2 separate regions of the Homo sapiens genome follow, and region 1 is linked to region 2. Evidence: promoter capture Hi-C in human tissues and cell types (Jung and others, 2019). All regions are on one chromosome and are shown on one strand. The core of a region is centred on a gene start or on the middle of the fragment in contact, and the rest is flanking DNA. Distances in the headings are between cores, read along the strand shown.

What was found. Contacts are between HindIII fragments. The study calls those that stand out against the background at their distance.
Region 1: a fragment that was not itself captured here is called in contact with the fragment with the promoter of PDGFRL in region 2 in 1 of the 25 tissues and cell types used here (dorsolateral prefrontal cortex).

What each region holds. Positions count from the first base shown.
Region 1 is chr8:17,231,693-17,235,917 of GRCh38, reverse strand. It overlaps CNOT7 (CCR4-NOT transcription complex subunit 7), which reads left to right. Exons shown (of 7, transcript NM_013354.7): 5 at 1,058-1,202; 6 at 3,381-3,491. Among named protein-coding and RNA genes, the nearest start is that of CNOT7, 13 kb to the left of the region's middle. RefSeq lists an enhancer at 2,283-2,785. The HindIII fragment of the contact is 7,978 bases long and covers 1-4,225 here.
Region 2 is chr8:17,575,898-17,580,062 of GRCh38, reverse strand. It overlaps PDGFRL (platelet derived growth factor receptor like), which reads right to left and starts at 2,847. Exons shown (of 6, transcript NM_001372073.1): 1 at 2,756-2,847. The coding sequence starts at 2,810. RefSeq lists silencers at 2,442-2,491, 2,582-2,641. The HindIII fragment of the contact is 19,467 bases long and covers 1-4,165 here.

The DNA of each region.
Region 1 (4,225 bases), core at 1,616-4,115, 340 kb after region 2:
CACTGGGTATTAAGATGAACAAAAACAAACAGGGTTCATTCATGTCTTCTTGGAGTTTAGAATCTAAGTTAGACTGATATATTTGAATATTTATCAAGATAGAAGATTTTATTCCATTAAATATCATTAGTTGTTTTCCTCATATTCTAATTTCAAGTAATGAAGAATAGTTTAAGAAGTTTATAAATCCTAAGCGCTAATATAATCTTTTAATGTTAGTGAGCAAATGTCATATAGGCTTCCTGTTAGAGGTCCTTGGAAGGAAAGGTAGACAAGGGACGGACGTGTCTAAGTGGCCTGGGAGTGTAGGGAGACAGAAAGCTGTGCGAAAGGCCGGACAAAGGGAGAAGAGTTCTGGATTTGAGAGTGTAGGAGTTTGCATTTTATGATCAAGAGAGTAGTTATTTTTTTACTACCCTTCACTTCTTCCATGTGCAGCATTTCCATTAATAATGACTCTTAGGGAGCCACACTGAAAGGAAGAGAATTGTGAAGGAAGAAAAGGGAGAGACTACTTAACACAGTCATTTAAGAGAAGTGAAAATACCTTGTTACAGTCTTATTCTTTGGATAAAGTATATGACCACCTTATGTAAAAGTGGGATGACTTGCATTACTTTTGTCTACCGAATGCCAGTTCTCTTGCTACCTTTGCTAACTCTTCTGGCCAAGTTTCCATTCATCTTTATTTCTCCATTTCCATAGTTACTTTAAAAAATATTTTGAGACATCTGTGGGCAGCTTGATACTCTTCTTGGTGTTCTCTATTCAGATATCAACAAAATAGTATTTTATTGACCATAGGCTGGTTTGGTAGTGTAGGTCTGTGTTGATATCTCTGAATAATAAAGTGATAAAGTTCTTAATACTGTAAGATGACGACATTTTCTCATAGTTCTCAATATGTTTGTTTTCTCTGTTCTTGTGTGCACTTCTCTTTAATGTTTTTGGGAGGGCTCTAGTGTGACTTGCTTAAATTTGAATCAGAAAAACTTTTTTTTTTAATCTTTATAGTATTTATATGTCCCTCTTCTCTATTCTTTTAACCCTTTTATAGCGGTTACGACTTTGGCTACTTAATCAAAATCCTAACCAACTCTAACTTGCCTGAAGAAGAACTTGACTTCTTTGAGATCCTTCGATTGTTTTTTCCTGTCATTTATGATGTGAAGTACCTCATGAAGAGCTGCAAAAATCTCAAAGTAAGGCTTCGGATGGCATTATCTACAGCAGCACACTGTTCAGACCAAGTGACTGTCATGCGAGCCTAGGCTGGGATGTTGTTTTAAACCATATTTTAAAGTATTACAGTGAATGCAATTATATTATCTGGTCATGTGATTTTTTTTCTTGCATACATAATTTGTAGGGAATCCTTTTTTCAGAGCTTCAGTATGTCTTGGCAGAAGGCAGAATTTTCAACACATTTCAGGCTTAGGTCCGGTTCTTGTCACTGCTTGCCAGATTGAAAATCACAAACCAAAACACAAATCTGAGGACATTGAGGCTCTCATATGCACGCCATTGTGAGTTGTTACTTTCTCCCAAGACGCATAGAATCTGTTCTTACAAGGTGGAATCTAAGGTGGCCAGCGATATGCAGATGTATTTAGTAGTGTGGCAAAAGTTTTTCTTTCCTTTTGGCTTATCTTGGCTAGAAATTATTTTGTCAGTTCTAGTGATAGGATAATGCTCCTAGGATTAAACTATATAGCTAAAAGATTTTTCTGTGGCCAAAAGATGTCAGCTTGTTACAGTTAAGTACTATGGGAAATGTGTAGGTCCTGCCTAGATAGTAGTAACATTTTGACGCTGCATAACATGTATTTTTAAATTCTAAACATTAATTCTTTTTTTGTTTTTGAGACGGAGCCTTGCTCTTGTCGCCCAGGCTGGAGTGCAGTGGCGTGGTCTCGGCTCACTGCAACCTCCGCCTCCCGGGTTCAAGTGATTCTCCTGCCTCAGCCTCCTGTGTAGCTGGAATTAACAGGTGTCCATCACCACACCCAGCTAAATTTCGTATTTTTAGTAGAGTCGGGGTTTTACCGTGTTGGTCACGCTGGTCTTAACAGATAACTGAAGATGAGAAGCTTTCTTTTGGCCAGTGTTTACCTTTAATACATGATATGGTCAGCATATGACTAGAGAAATTTTCAAGAAAGATTATTTTATGTTTGTAGCAGTAGACTTCTGTGTAATTTGAGGGGACTTCCAGGAAGTGAACTTGCAGTAGGGTATCCCTTGCTTGAGAAATTCAGCCCACCCTGTGAAAGCACTGCATGCTGAGGCCTACATGTTTTCATCTGACTTTTTTTTTAATTGACATGTCTGTATAATGATAGTTTTCAGGAACAGGGAACCAAATTATTGCTCATCATGTGGTTGTTACTGGGAAGTTTCTAAGTACAGATATTCTGAATGTGTCCTGAGTAAGCTGCTGTGTTAAAATTCAGGTTAACGACAAAGGTGCTTTTTGACCTATAGTCAGCCATGCTGTTCTATTCAGTTCTAGTTCTGTTCTCCTAAGCAGCTGCTAACGATACCTAATCCTCGTGCTATTTTTAGCGCAGAAGCAACTGCTGTGCAAAGCCTTGTTTCAAGCTGTGATGCACAGAAGGGCCATTTTGCCGGTGGAGGCCTTAACAAGTTAGAGAAGAATTTTTGTTTTGTTGTTGGTGTTTCTTTCCTTCACGCTCTACTTATTCTCCCCTCCCTTTACTCTCCTTGCCTGTCCTCCCACTTTCTTTCCTTCTGTTACTGTCTTTCTCTTTCTTTCTTTCCACTCTTTCCACTCTCATCTTTCTTTTTTAATCTTAGGAGTATTAACATAGGTGGATTATAGCAGACCACTCTAAGGAGTTGTGTGCATATACTCGTCTTAACTAAGAAAACCATAGTGAAGCATTTAGCATACTCTTAATGATTATTCATAATGGCTTTGTTTTGTAAAAATTAAGTGAAAACTACAAATGGATGGTGGGAAGTTTAAGAAAATATGAAAAAAATGGTGTTATACTAGCTTTTCAGTTTTATAATTATTACTGGATTGATAGACTATGAGTGTACTTGATAAATATTACCCTATATGTGGTCTGCTTCCTTCCCATATCTAGGAGAGTATTTACCTGTCATATGCCCTAAAACATGATGAAAATACATTTTCCCAATTAGGATCTTGTTTTCTATTAAATGATACTTTTTCCGCATTCAACAAATACATTAGTAATTCACATTCTCTGTTTCTTCCCCCCAATCTTTATAAGATTCACCTTTACATACTAAAGTTTATTTTTATTTTGGTCAGCGTCTAAGTTTATAATTTGTGAATTTAGGCCTTGTAAGATTTTTCTTCTTGACAAGCAATTTTTTATTTTTTCTAGGGTGGATTACAGGAGGTGGCAGAACAGTTAGAGCTGGAACGGATAGGACCACAACATCAGGCAGGATCTGATTCATTGCTCACAGGAATGGCCTTTTTCAAAATGAGAGAAGTATGAAGACATCACTGCCTTTTTCTCAGTTGGTTGTTAGGTTGAGAACATTAAAAATCTTGTGGCCAAAGATTTTGGGCAACAAGTACCTACTAAGTAAAGATATAATTAGAGATACCATATGAGTCACATCCACCACACTTAAAAGTATTCAAAAATAAGTCATCTTGAAATGTAGTTCAGAAGGAACTGGGAGAACATGTTCATCATAGAACCAACAATTTTAAAACATAAACTACCTGAGAAGTCATGTAGGTCCAACCATATTATTTCTCAGGTGAGAAAACAGGCTAATAACTTCCATGATTAAACACATTACTAGTGGGAGAACTCCAGAGTTCTTTTCTGACTCCCATTGGTGCTCCTCCTACAAGGCAAGGAATCTTTATATTAGGTTTATTCTAGCATGACCCCTTTTAAGGTTTAAACTGGTGATAAATATATTATTTGCTCATGTCATTCTTCAGTGCTTTGAAGATTTTATAGAGAAGAACTCAGGCTCTTTTACTGCATTGAGTCTTAAAAGGGGGGTTGAATTCCGAAGGGATCAAATAAATCCAACGTAGTAGTTGCATCAGAAACCATATTAGGAAAACCCTCCTTAAACGGCAAAAGGCAGAGATCAGTTCCTTGAGTATAAAGTGTTAGGGATGGAAGAATGAAACTAAATGAACCCATTATCTACTCCTAAGTAATTAAGTGATGTGCACAGATACACCTAGCTATAGGTAAAC
Region 2 (4,165 bases), core at 1,598-4,097:
GCTCCTGACATTCAATAAAAATATGTAGGTAATCAAAAGTCAGGAAATATTTGTGATTTTATACTTTTCAATGTGAAAATAGAAGCACCCTATTAATAAACTCGGTGGCATGTATTCCATATAAATGCTGAAAATCAGGTGCTATGATTGACATCTCAACGTGGAATCTTGGATTATTTATTACCTGTTTTCATCCCTCAGTTTCATGCCATGAAGTATTATGTGCCTTTCCAGCTCCCCATCTTCATGAGGAGAAAGAACATTACTTCCAAAAATTTAAAGCATTTTGTCATTGGGAGCAGCCAGCTTCATTGGGTCACAGGCCAGATGTTCACCCCCATACACACTTGCAGGGAAGTCTTTTCCTCTTAGAAGGCTGTCTTTGGCTAGTTGTGGTGGCTAGCACAAGTGGAAGTCGCAGTGAGCTAAGATTGTGCCACTGCACTCCACCTGGGTGACATAGCAAGACTCCATCTCAATAATAATAATAATAATAATAATAATAACAATAATAATAAAATAATAATAAAGACTGTCTTTTAGATGTGATCAGAAAAACTAAAAGGCAGTGAAACAAGTTGAGTCATGGACCTTGTGTCTGTAATTTGTGCTTTGGGATGGCCTTGAAGGCAGGATATTCCCAACCTGCCAATCTGAGACCAGCACTGGAAGGGCCTCCTGTGTAATCCACTCTCCTTAGTAGCTCCTGGCCACAACTCACAACACAACTCAAAACCAAAAACCATTCTTAATAGGTTTAGCCAAACGGTTACATAACTTAATGAAGCACTGTGTGTTCACTATTGTATCCATAAATAGTCCATACATTATAGATATGTGTGCTTTTATTTTTATCTTTATTTTCTTGAGATGGAGTCTCACTTTGTCGCCCAGCTGGAGTGCAGTGGTGCGATCTCGGCTCACTGCAACCTCTGCCTCCCAGGTTCAAGCAGTTCTCTGCCTCACCCTCCCAAGTAGCTGGGATTACACGTGCCCACCACCACGCCCGGCTAATTTTTATATTTTTAGTAGAGACGGGGTTTCACCATCTTGGCCAGGCTGGTCTTGAACTCCTGACCTTGTGATCCACCTGCCTTGGCCTCCCAAAGTGCTGGGATTACAGGCATGAGCCACTGTGCCCGGCCAGATGTGTGTACTTTTATAAACAAAATCTTCGTGCTATTATCACCTAAAATTTATGAACTATTTCTTACATTCAGTCTGTATTCCACTTTCTCCAATTGTCTCATAAATGCTTATTGTTTGTATGGATTACACTTAAAGAAAGGGTAAATTTAGTCAGATGTTTGTAATAAACTCACATGGGCTGGGTGAGATCCAGGAGGCAGAATGGAAGTCAATTTCTGAGCCTCTAAGACTGGCAAGTTGGGTATAAACAAAGGAATGGCTGATTTGAAATTATTTTGCCTGGCCATCTCCTGCCCTATTCAAAAAATGATACTACAAATTACATTTCTGCCTTTTCAGCGGTTGCACACAAGGGCCTGCCAGGAGCATTTTAATATTGCATTTTACAAACTGAACTCATGGCAACTTCTCTCTGGGCAGAGTTAAGTGTTACTCTCCCAGTAGAAGCTCTGCCTACGTTTTATTAAGCAAAGCTCTAGGCTGAAGGACCCTCATGCTCAACTTCAAGTACCACGACTATCTTGGATTTTGCAAACTACAATGCGGTATTTTTTTGGCAAATGTAGTTTCCTAGGAAAGAAAGGAACTGGTCAGGATGAACGAGTGGATAAAAATGTGAGCCAGGTCGAGCTGGCTCCAGCATGAAGTTGCATAACAGCAAAAGCTACTTTTCCACTAAATCTAAGCAAAAATTGTGTTGTAGCCCAGGAATTTCAAGAGAGGGTTGAGGACACCAGGAGGCACCCAGATGAAACATGTACTGTACAAATAACACCCATGGAGTGAATAGAGCAAACAAAACATTTAAATGCTAACAATAATATATAATACACACCACAGTAATACACACACCCAGACACACAGAAAAATAACACCAGACCCTGTGGTCACGGGTGTACACGACAGGGTGGACCCAGGACAGGTACACATTCAAAAACGCGCAGCGGTCATGGTCCCATAAGCTGTACCAAAAAAATGCATTTTCTTCACCATTTCCCATCCAATTAGATAAATATAATAAGCCGTGGGCTTTTGATTCGTTTTGAAGTTTCATACACTGACATTTTTGTTCGAAGATCTAGGCAGATCTTGCAGGATTCAAGCAAAAGGTGGTAGACGAAAACACGCCCAGAACTGCGAGGGGAGGGGGAGGTCACCTGGAACTCTGCAACCGAATCAGCGATTGCCGAGCTTAGGTGGCACTCGCTCTCAGCAGCAGAGGTCCCAGCCACGCCGCTGGGAGGTGGAAGCGATCCGAGGCTCCCGCCCCACCTCCCAGACCGACACGTTGACACTGGGGGCTGGACCAGGCGCTGGCTGGGGATGCTTGGTTCGCCCGGAGATGGGGACTTGGAGAGGTCCTGGTGGGCTCCTAAGGGTCGGGGTAGCTGCCACCACCCCTAGAGGGCTCTCCGGGCAGGCAAAGAGTGGGAGGAAAGGAGACCCCACCAGGAGGGGGCAGGTGCACCGGGCAGGCAGTGGCGCGGGGGCTGAGCCACCGAGGGCCGAACGTTAGACCAAGAGCTGGCAGGAGGGCGGCGGGGGCTTCGGGTCCCGGCTAAAGTCAGGGCACAAGCTAGGTGGCCCCGCGCCCAGAGTCACTCACCATCCTCCAGCGCTTCGTGCACCAGCAGAAGACCAAGCAGCAGCCAGACCTTCATCTCGGGAACCTCGGACCTCGGAGCGCAGGAGCGCGGCGGCTGCGCGGGGCGGGGACGCAGGGGAGGCGGCGGGCGAGGGGCGGGCTCCTGGGACGCCGAAGCGGGAGGATTCGGTTTCTTCAGGAGGAACAAGGTTTGGGGGAAAAAGTTGGGGAATTTTTTTTTTTTTTAGTTCTCTGTGTAATGTGACTTCTCCTGCCCCCTGGCGGAGCCGCGGTGCGCAGCACTTCTTCCCAGCGCGGGGAGGAAAGGCTAAGCGTGAAATGTACATTACAACAGCCATTCCTTGAATTTCTCCAACGCTTGGCGTTTTCACCAAGGTTATCAAGTTCAAGAAGGATCAGCGGGTGCTGATGGGGTCACTTTTAACCACGATTGTCCAAATGTTACCAGCGCCCGCCCCACCTCCTCAGGCAGAACCTGAGTGCTCTGTAAAAAGTGCTTCCTAAATTATTTCTGTTCATTCCATTTCTCTCCCCCACATGCACTCACTCACAGGACCGTTGCCCCGGGTTCTTGCTGCTCCTCTGTGTCTGGCCAGAGTTGGTCTCCGCACCCAGCCCTGTAACTGCTGGTGGGGGTGGGAGGACGGGTTCATTACAGGAATAACGTGGAAAATGAGACTGTGCAGACAACCCGGGCCTCTGGTGGTGAGGCAGGAGAACAGGGAATTAGGGTAAGCACGGGCTAGGGTATGAGCAGGAGAACAGCAGGTGCAGCCAGTTCGCAGAAGCAAAAGATCAGCAGGTGCAGACAGTTCTAGGCATGATTAGGCGGCACACAGGCCACATCCTCGCTCCTCTGATAACAAGGCAGAAGTTTCCACTTCAGCCTCGGACTGGTCGCAGGCCAGTCCTTCGTAAGGTGTAACCAGTTGGAGGCCTCTAAAGGGAACCCAAGGGTGTTGCCAAGTTCTTTTCGCTTTATAAAATCCCTGGGGAGCGTCAGGCTCTTGTGGCTTGCTGCAGCGCCCTCTGTGAATTGTCTTCTATAAATCTACGTTTTCCTTCCTCCCTTCTGTTGCTTTGTTTTTCCTTGCTTCTTTCTTTCGTTACTCCGTGCATTTCGTTCAATTTTTTGTTCAACAGGCCAAGAACCTGGACAACTCTATCAGGTAACAGTGGGGCAGAAGATACGGGCTTTCACAAGTCCCTCTGCAGAGAGCCATCCTGCGTTTCTGAGCTTGCAGACTCTCATGATCAAAGCAGTTTGCTAGCGGGGGAGATGCCTGTGTGTGTTCCCCCGGTGAGAAGCAGCCCATCTCATTGTAATCTTCAGCACCAGGCACTGCTATTAAAGGGAGCTCAATTCTAAATAACAGGAAAGGGACTTGTCCCTCAACACCCAACGAAAGA